Linked DNA regions of Homo sapiens: region 2 is linked to region 1. Evidence: promoter capture Hi-C in 16 types of primary human blood cells and fetal thymus (Javierre and others, 2016). All regions are on one chromosome and are shown on one strand. Each heading gives the region's core, a stretch centred on a gene start or on the middle of the fragment in contact. The rest is flanking DNA. Distances are from core to core; before and after follow the strand shown. Region 1 holds the start of ZC3H7A (zinc finger CCCH-type containing 7A). Region 2 overlaps LOC400499 (putative uncharacterized protein LOC400499).

The links. Contacts are between HindIII fragments. The CHiCAGO score rates a contact against its expected background, and 5 or more counts as called.
Region 2: a fragment that was not itself captured here is called in contact with the fragment with the promoter of ZC3H7A in region 1 in 1 of 17 cell types (neutrophils); the score reaches 5.1 in neutrophils.

The regions. Positions count from the first base shown.
Region 1 is chr16:11,795,433-11,798,795 of GRCh38, reverse strand. ZC3H7A (zinc finger CCCH-type containing 7A) reads left to right here and starts at 1,538. Exons shown (of 23, transcript NM_014153.4): 1 at 1,538-1,672. RefSeq lists silencers at 1,255-1,664, 2,147-2,306 and an enhancer at 1,302-1,839. The HindIII fragment of the contact is 5,880 bases long and covers 1-3,363 here.
Region 2 is chr16:11,403,397-11,406,759 of GRCh38, reverse strand. It overlaps LOC400499 (putative uncharacterized protein LOC400499), which reads left to right. Exons shown (of 67, transcript NM_001370704.1): 48 at 1,894-2,056. Among named protein-coding and RNA genes, the nearest start is that of RMI2, 60 kb to the right of the region's middle. The HindIII fragment of the contact is 554 bases long and covers 1,272-1,825 here.

The sequences.
Region 1 (3,363 bases), core at 289-2,788:
TGCCTCGGCTTCCCAAAGTGCTAGAATTACAGGCGTGAGCCACTGCGCCTGGCCTAATACGACTATTTGAATACGGCCTTTTAGGTAGTCACTGGGGTTAAATGAAGTCATAGGGTGGGGCCCTAATCTAGTAAAATTGTTGTTCTTGTAAGAAAAAGGAAGACACACCAGGGATTCCTGCTCACAGAGAAAAGGTCATAGGAGGACACAGTGAGAAGGCAGCTGTTTGCAAGCCAGGGAGAGAGGCCTCACCAGAAACCAGCCCTGCCGGCACCCAGACCTTAGATTTGCAGCCTCTAAAACTGTGAGAAAATAAATTCCTGTTGTCTAAGCTGCCTGGTCTGGGGTATTTTGTCATGGCAGCCTGAGCTAATACTCTGGTTTGTAAATCTACGTCACCCAGACCCCTGGAAGAGCTACTGTAGCTAGAGTCCCCACTTCCCCTCTTGTCTCTCCTACAGCCCAATCTCTGCATAGTAGCAGGAGAGAACTTTCTAAAATATAAATGAGACCTCGGAACTCCCAATTCAGACTCAATGAATGACCCCCTTCCACACAAAACTCCAAATTAAACATGGCGGCCCCCCTGTGTCACAGATCTTTCTCCCCTCTGGCACACATCAGCTATGCAGGCCTTTCCTGTTATCCAGACACCGAACTCCAGCTTCAGGGCTTTTGCACTCATTTCCCCTCTGCCTGCGGCACACTTCCCCGAACACGGTTGCATGGCTGTCACCTCCTCAGAGGCTTTCCCAAAAGCTCCTGTCACATCCTCCTGCTTGAATTTCTTTGGTCTTCACCGACCAAAATGGTCTTCTTTGGGCTCTTGTGGGTCCTGATCTCCGCCCTCCATCCCATGGGGCAGGGACCCTGCCTCGCCCACTGCTGAGCTGAGCATTTTACAAGAAGCCGTGCCCGCAGCGGGGCACCTGGCCGTAAAATGCAGATGGACGAGGCGGCATTTGGGCTGGGCCCTGAAGGACAGGGATCCAGGCCTTCCAAGAGCCGGCAGATGGAACTGGAGGGAGGCTGTCTTTGGATCCCCGGCTGCCGTGGGGCTCCGCGCCTCCGTTCCTCATATGTAGGAATGAAGACAATCACGGTTGTTCTGAGGATGCAGGGTTACTCTTCGCAGAGCAGGGCGCCCCGGTTGAGGGCTCGTCAAGCTAAGCAGGCTCCAGGGTGGGCTTCCCGATGCCGACTCTAGCTCCTCTCCCCGCTGGACGCTGTTCTACCTCCTAGCGCTTCTGCTCAGGCCGCGGCCCAGGCGAGGCCCCAGAAAACCCCGGTGCTGGTTAATCAGTCTTGAGTCCGAGCGCGTCCAGTGCGCAACGTGGCCTTCCCATTGGCTCACCCAGTGGGCCGCGCGTCGACGCCGGGGCTCCGGATTGAACGGCGCGCCCAGGTCCCTGCCCCCAGTCAGACGTGGCGCCACCGCCCCCAGCCCGTAGCTCCGGCGCAGCCAATGGCGGCGTCTCCCGGGCGGCAAGCGCGGCCTCCCGCCGCTAGAGGGCGCCGCCGCGGGCGCAACCGAGCCGCTGCCGCCGCCGCTAACCGAGGGAGAGCTGCGAGCGAGCACCCAGGCCCCGCCGCCGCCGCCGCCACCGCTGCCCGCCTGCCGCCGCCCGCCTCCGCCTGCCTTCTGCCGCCGGCCGGCGCGTCGTCCCCACAGGTAGGGGTAGGGGGACGCCGCCGGGCATGAAGGAAACGCGCGCGCCCGCGCCCCCGCCCCCCCCGCGCGCGCCGCCGCCTCGTGCTCGCGCGCGGCCGTTAACGGACGGCGGGCGGGGCGGGGGAGGGGCGGCGGGGTCCGGGGCCCGCGGACCCGAGAGGACCCTGAGAGGAGCCGGGCCGGGGCCTGTGCGCGCGGAGGGACGGGTGGGCGCGCCGTCCCCTTCCCCCACCGAGAATAACGTGACCCACTTCTGCCTGCCATTCCCTCGGCAAAATGTCTCCTTTTTGGTGATTTCACTAAAAAAAAATTTTTTTTTTGGTTATTTCTGTCTGCTCTGGTGATCGCGGGGATCCCGATTCAGCGTCTTGGGCTTGGGGGCGGGAAGGATGCCGGCGGAGAGCTTGGCGCATTAATTTGGGGCTCATCCGTCTTTTTTACCCCCCTTTCTGATTTTTTTATTTTTTCGCGCGGGGTGCAGCCCTGGGCCGGGCGGGGAGAGGCCTTGGGGTCCGCGGAGGCGGGGGCGCCGCCCGGGAGGACCGGGACCGGGACCTGTCAGTTCCCATTAGCGGGGCTTCCGGTCAGGCCTGGGCAGCAAAGGGGTGGGGCCGCCTGAGGCCCGGCCGGGGCCTCCGAGGTCGAGCCTGAGTCGGGACTGGGTGGATTTGCCAGGAGTTGGGTATTTTCCTGTCCCCACCTGTCTAGGGATGAAAAGGAGTTGCCCGTGTTCGGTATTGAACCACGAAGGACCTTGCCATGCCCAGTACGGTGGCCACTGACCCCCCGCCGTTTGGGACGATGGAGCCCACGAAATGGGGCCAGTTTCAGTTGCGGTCCCAGCTGTGAAACGTACATCTGATTTTAAAAACTTCGGATGAGAAAGAAAGTAAAAGATGTCATTGGTAATCTTTTATACTTAAATGCATGTTGAGATGGTCATGTTTGGGACAAATTGGATTAACGAAAATAGATCATTAAAATTAATCTTGGCAGGATGCAGTGGCTCATGCCTGTCATCCCAAAACTTTGGGAGGCTGAGGCAGGAGGATCGTTTGAGTGCAGGAGTTCAAGACCAGCCTCAGCAACATAGTGAGACCCCTGTCTCTACAAAAAATACAAAAAATTAACTGGGCGTGGTGGCGCACGCCGGTAGTCAGCTACTCGGGAAGCTGAGGTGGGAGAATCTGCTACTCGGAAGGCTGGGGTGGGAGAATCCCTTGAGCCCAGGAGATTGAGGCTTCGGTGAGCTGAGATTGTGCCTTTGTGCTCCAGCCTGGGACACTGTCTCAAAACAAACAAATAAAAAAACAAAAGTTAATCTCACTGCTTTTCTTTTTCTCTTTTTTTAGTGTGGCTATTTGGAAATTTAAAATGACATATACGGGCCGGGCGGGGTGGCTCAACGTCTGTAATCCCAGCACTTTGGGAGGCCGAGGTGTGTGGATCACCTGAGGTCAGGAATTCCGAGACCAGCCTGGCCAACATGGAGAAACCCCGTCTCTAGTAAAAATACAAAAATCAGCCAGGCGTGGTGGCAGGCGCCTGTAATCCCAGCTACTGGGGAGGCTGAGGCAGGAGAATCGTTTGAACCGGGAGGCAGAGGTTGCAGTGAGCCGAGATTGTGCCACTGCACTCCTCCCTGGGCAACAGAGCGAGACTCCCTCTCCACATACATGCGTACATACATA
Region 2 (3,363 bases), core at 299-2,798, 390 kb after region 1:
GCACCAGCCATTTGAAAATCCGGGGGAAGGCCGGGCACGGTGGCTCGCGCCTGTAATCCCAGCACTTTGGGAGGCCGAGGCGGGTGGATGACCTGAGGTGAGGAGTTCGAGACCAGCACGGCCAACATGGGGAAACCCCGTCTCTACTAAAAATATGGAATTAGCCAGGCGTGGTGGCACATGCCTATAATCCCAGCTACTTTGGAGGCTGAGGCAGGAGAATTGCTTGAACCCAGGATGTGGAGGTTGCAGTGAGCCGAGATTGCGCCGTTGCACTGCGGCCTGGGTGACAAGAGTGAAACTCCATCTCAAAAGGAAGAAAAGAAAAAAGAAATCTCTGGGGGAGGGGCATTCGAGGCAGGTAAAGAGACTGTGGTATATATACACCATGGAATATTACACAGCCGGAAAAAAGAATGAAATTCTGTCCTTTGCAGCAGCAGGGATGCAATTATCCTAAGTGAACTAGCTCAGAAACAGAAAACCCAGTATCACATGTTCTCACTTGTAAGCAGGAGCTAAACATTGAATACACATGGACATAAAGATGGAAACAGTAAACACTGAGGGCTCCAAAAGGGAGGAGGGTGAGAGGGAGCCAAGGGTTGGAAAATTACCTGCCTGGTATGATGTTCGATATTTGGGTGACAGGGACGCTGGAAGCCCAGTCCCCACCATTACACAATATACCTATGTAACAAACATGCACACTGACCCCCTCAATCTAAAATACATTTTTTAAAAAGAGTATTCCAGGCAGAGGGAACAAGACATGCAAAGGGCCTGGGGCAGGGATGGGTTTGCATGTTTTAGGAATGGCCAAGGAGCCACTGGGCTGGAGCTGGGTGGGTGGGGAATGGTAGGAGGTGGTCTGATCACACAGGGTCAGTCAGGCCACAGGGAGGCGTTTGCATTGTGTTCTATCTGCTACTAGAAGCCTTTGAAGCCATGATCAAATAAATGATGATTTCAGATCCCTCTGGCTGCTGTGTGGGGAGGGACCTACAGGTGGCAGAAGTGAGCAGTGAGGAAGCCCCATAATGGGCAGGGGCAGGGCAATAATAATGCGTGGACCAAGCTGGGGGCAGTAGTGATAGGTTTTAGAGACGTTTAAGAGCAAACTTCCTTCCCCACCCCAGCAGTCCCCCTGCAGTGCCCTCAAGTCACCCTCGGACTGTGGCACCCACCAGCAGGGACGGCGTCCCTCTCCGAACCTTTGCACAGGCTCTTCCATCTGCCTAGAATGCTCTTCCCTGCCTCCTCCCCAAGCTTGCTTCTCTGCGTTCCTTTCTCCCTTGAATGTCTCTTGTGACCATCCTTGTCACCTTATCCCATCATTTTCTGTCCTGTGACTATCTCGACTATCTCCCTGGGAGCCCCTTAAGGGCCAGGACCAGGTCTTGGCTAGCTTTGTACCCAGGCACTCAGCACTGGCTTGGGAGCATGATACCTGCTCGCTACATGATTGAGAAACCGCAATACCAACTGCGTGCCTCCTACAAGCTCCTCTCCACCGTGTAGCCCTGGGCTGAGTGCACCACTTGTATCATCTTGCAAAGGTTGACACTTTCTGGCCTCCATTTTCTAGGAAACTGAGGCTCAGAGAGGTTGAAAAATGCCCAGAGCCACACAGCTTGGCCATGGAATTGAGAAGTGGCTGTTCTGTGCTGTCTCCTGTTGGCCATACTCCCCTCACCTACTCCTCTCCTTTAAATTATCTGCTCATCCTTAGGAAGCATTTGGGTTTTTGATCCCCTGACATATGTCACCATTCAGGAAACTGTAAATGATCCACAAATATTCCCTTTTTCCTCCTCTGCAAGCTTCTCTTCTTTCCCATCCCAGGCAGAAGCATGGGTCGGGTTCCCCCATGACGCCGTCATTCTCTTCCAGCTCAGCGCTCTTCCCAGGGAGCTGTTCCTGCAGACCGCATACGAGCGAGCTCATGGGACCCGTGTCCTGCGCCAGGTGGTGCTGTGGGATGGCCAGGAGGTGGCCCTCACCGGGAGCCTTTCTGGGCCTTTCCCCAAGCCCACCAGGAACCTCAGCCTGCAGGGTGAGTGTGTGAGGGGCTGCAGGCAGGGGTGGCCCAGTCACTCAAGAAATCATCCCTGGCCAGGCGCGGTGGCTCATGCCTGTAATCCAAGCCCTTTGGGAGGCCGAGGTGGGTAGATCACTCGAGGTCAGGAGTTTGAGACCAGCCTGGCCAACATGGTGAAACCCCATCTCTACTAAAAATACAAAAATTAGCCAGGCATGGTGGCAGGCACCTACAATCTCAGCTACTTGGGAGGCTGAGGCAGGAGAATCGCTTGAACCTGGGAGGCAGAGGTTGCAGAGAGCCGAGATTGAGCCAGTGCATTCCAGCCTGAGCGAGAGTGAGACTCGGTCTCAAAAAAGCCATGACTGAGCACCTGCATATCCCAGGTGTAATCTAGGCACCAGGGGTCCATCAGGAAGCAAGATGGCCCAGGTGTCACCCCTCAGGGAGACAGGCATTGAGCAACAAGATGCACATAAGCAAAATAACGTCAAGCATGACCATTTCCACGAGTGGGAAAGGCTGTGAGAGCAAGCAGGGTCTTTGTGGGGTGTGGGCCTCCTTTAGGTGGGGTGGTCTGGGAAGGCCTCTTGGAGGAGGTGACTTCTGAACTGAGTTCTGAAGGATGAGAAGGAGCTGGCAGATCTGAGCAGAGGCACTTCAGGCGGAAGGCCCCACTTGGAAATGAGGTTTGCATGTGGAGCAGCAGCTGCGGGGCTAGCATGGCTGGAATGGGGAGAAGGGATGAGGCGAGGCAGGAGGGCTGGGGGACCCAGGTCATGCAGCGTCTCAGCTCATAGAGAGGAGCTGGGGCTTATCCTGAGTGCAGCCGGGCAGGGAGAAGGGGCCAGGGCGTGGAAGAGGTGGCATCCCTGGGCAGTTGTGGTGCCAGGGGAGCTGAGTGCCGACACAGCGCCAACAACAGCAGCCATGAGCCCCTGGGTCCTCCAGAAACAGGCATCCCTGGAAGGGGCTGTAATTTGTGGCCTGGGCAGCCACAAGACTTAGTTTCTGTGTAAGGAACCTCCTGAGCACAGAGCAGAGCCCGACCCACAGCCTGCCAGGTGTGGAGACAGAGTGCAGACCCCAGCCTGGAGGCACGGCTTACCAGGTGGCCTGATGGAATCCTCCCAGCGTCACATTTGCCACATGTGTGCCCTGGAAGGCAGAGGAAGTGAGCAGGTCCCCAGCAAGCCAAGGCAGTGTGCATGCGTGTATGTGTGTGCTCATGAGTGTATGTGTGCTCATGTGTGTATGTGTGCATGTGTGTGTATACATGCACGTGTGTGCATGCCTGTGTGTGTGTGTATTTGTGCCACCCT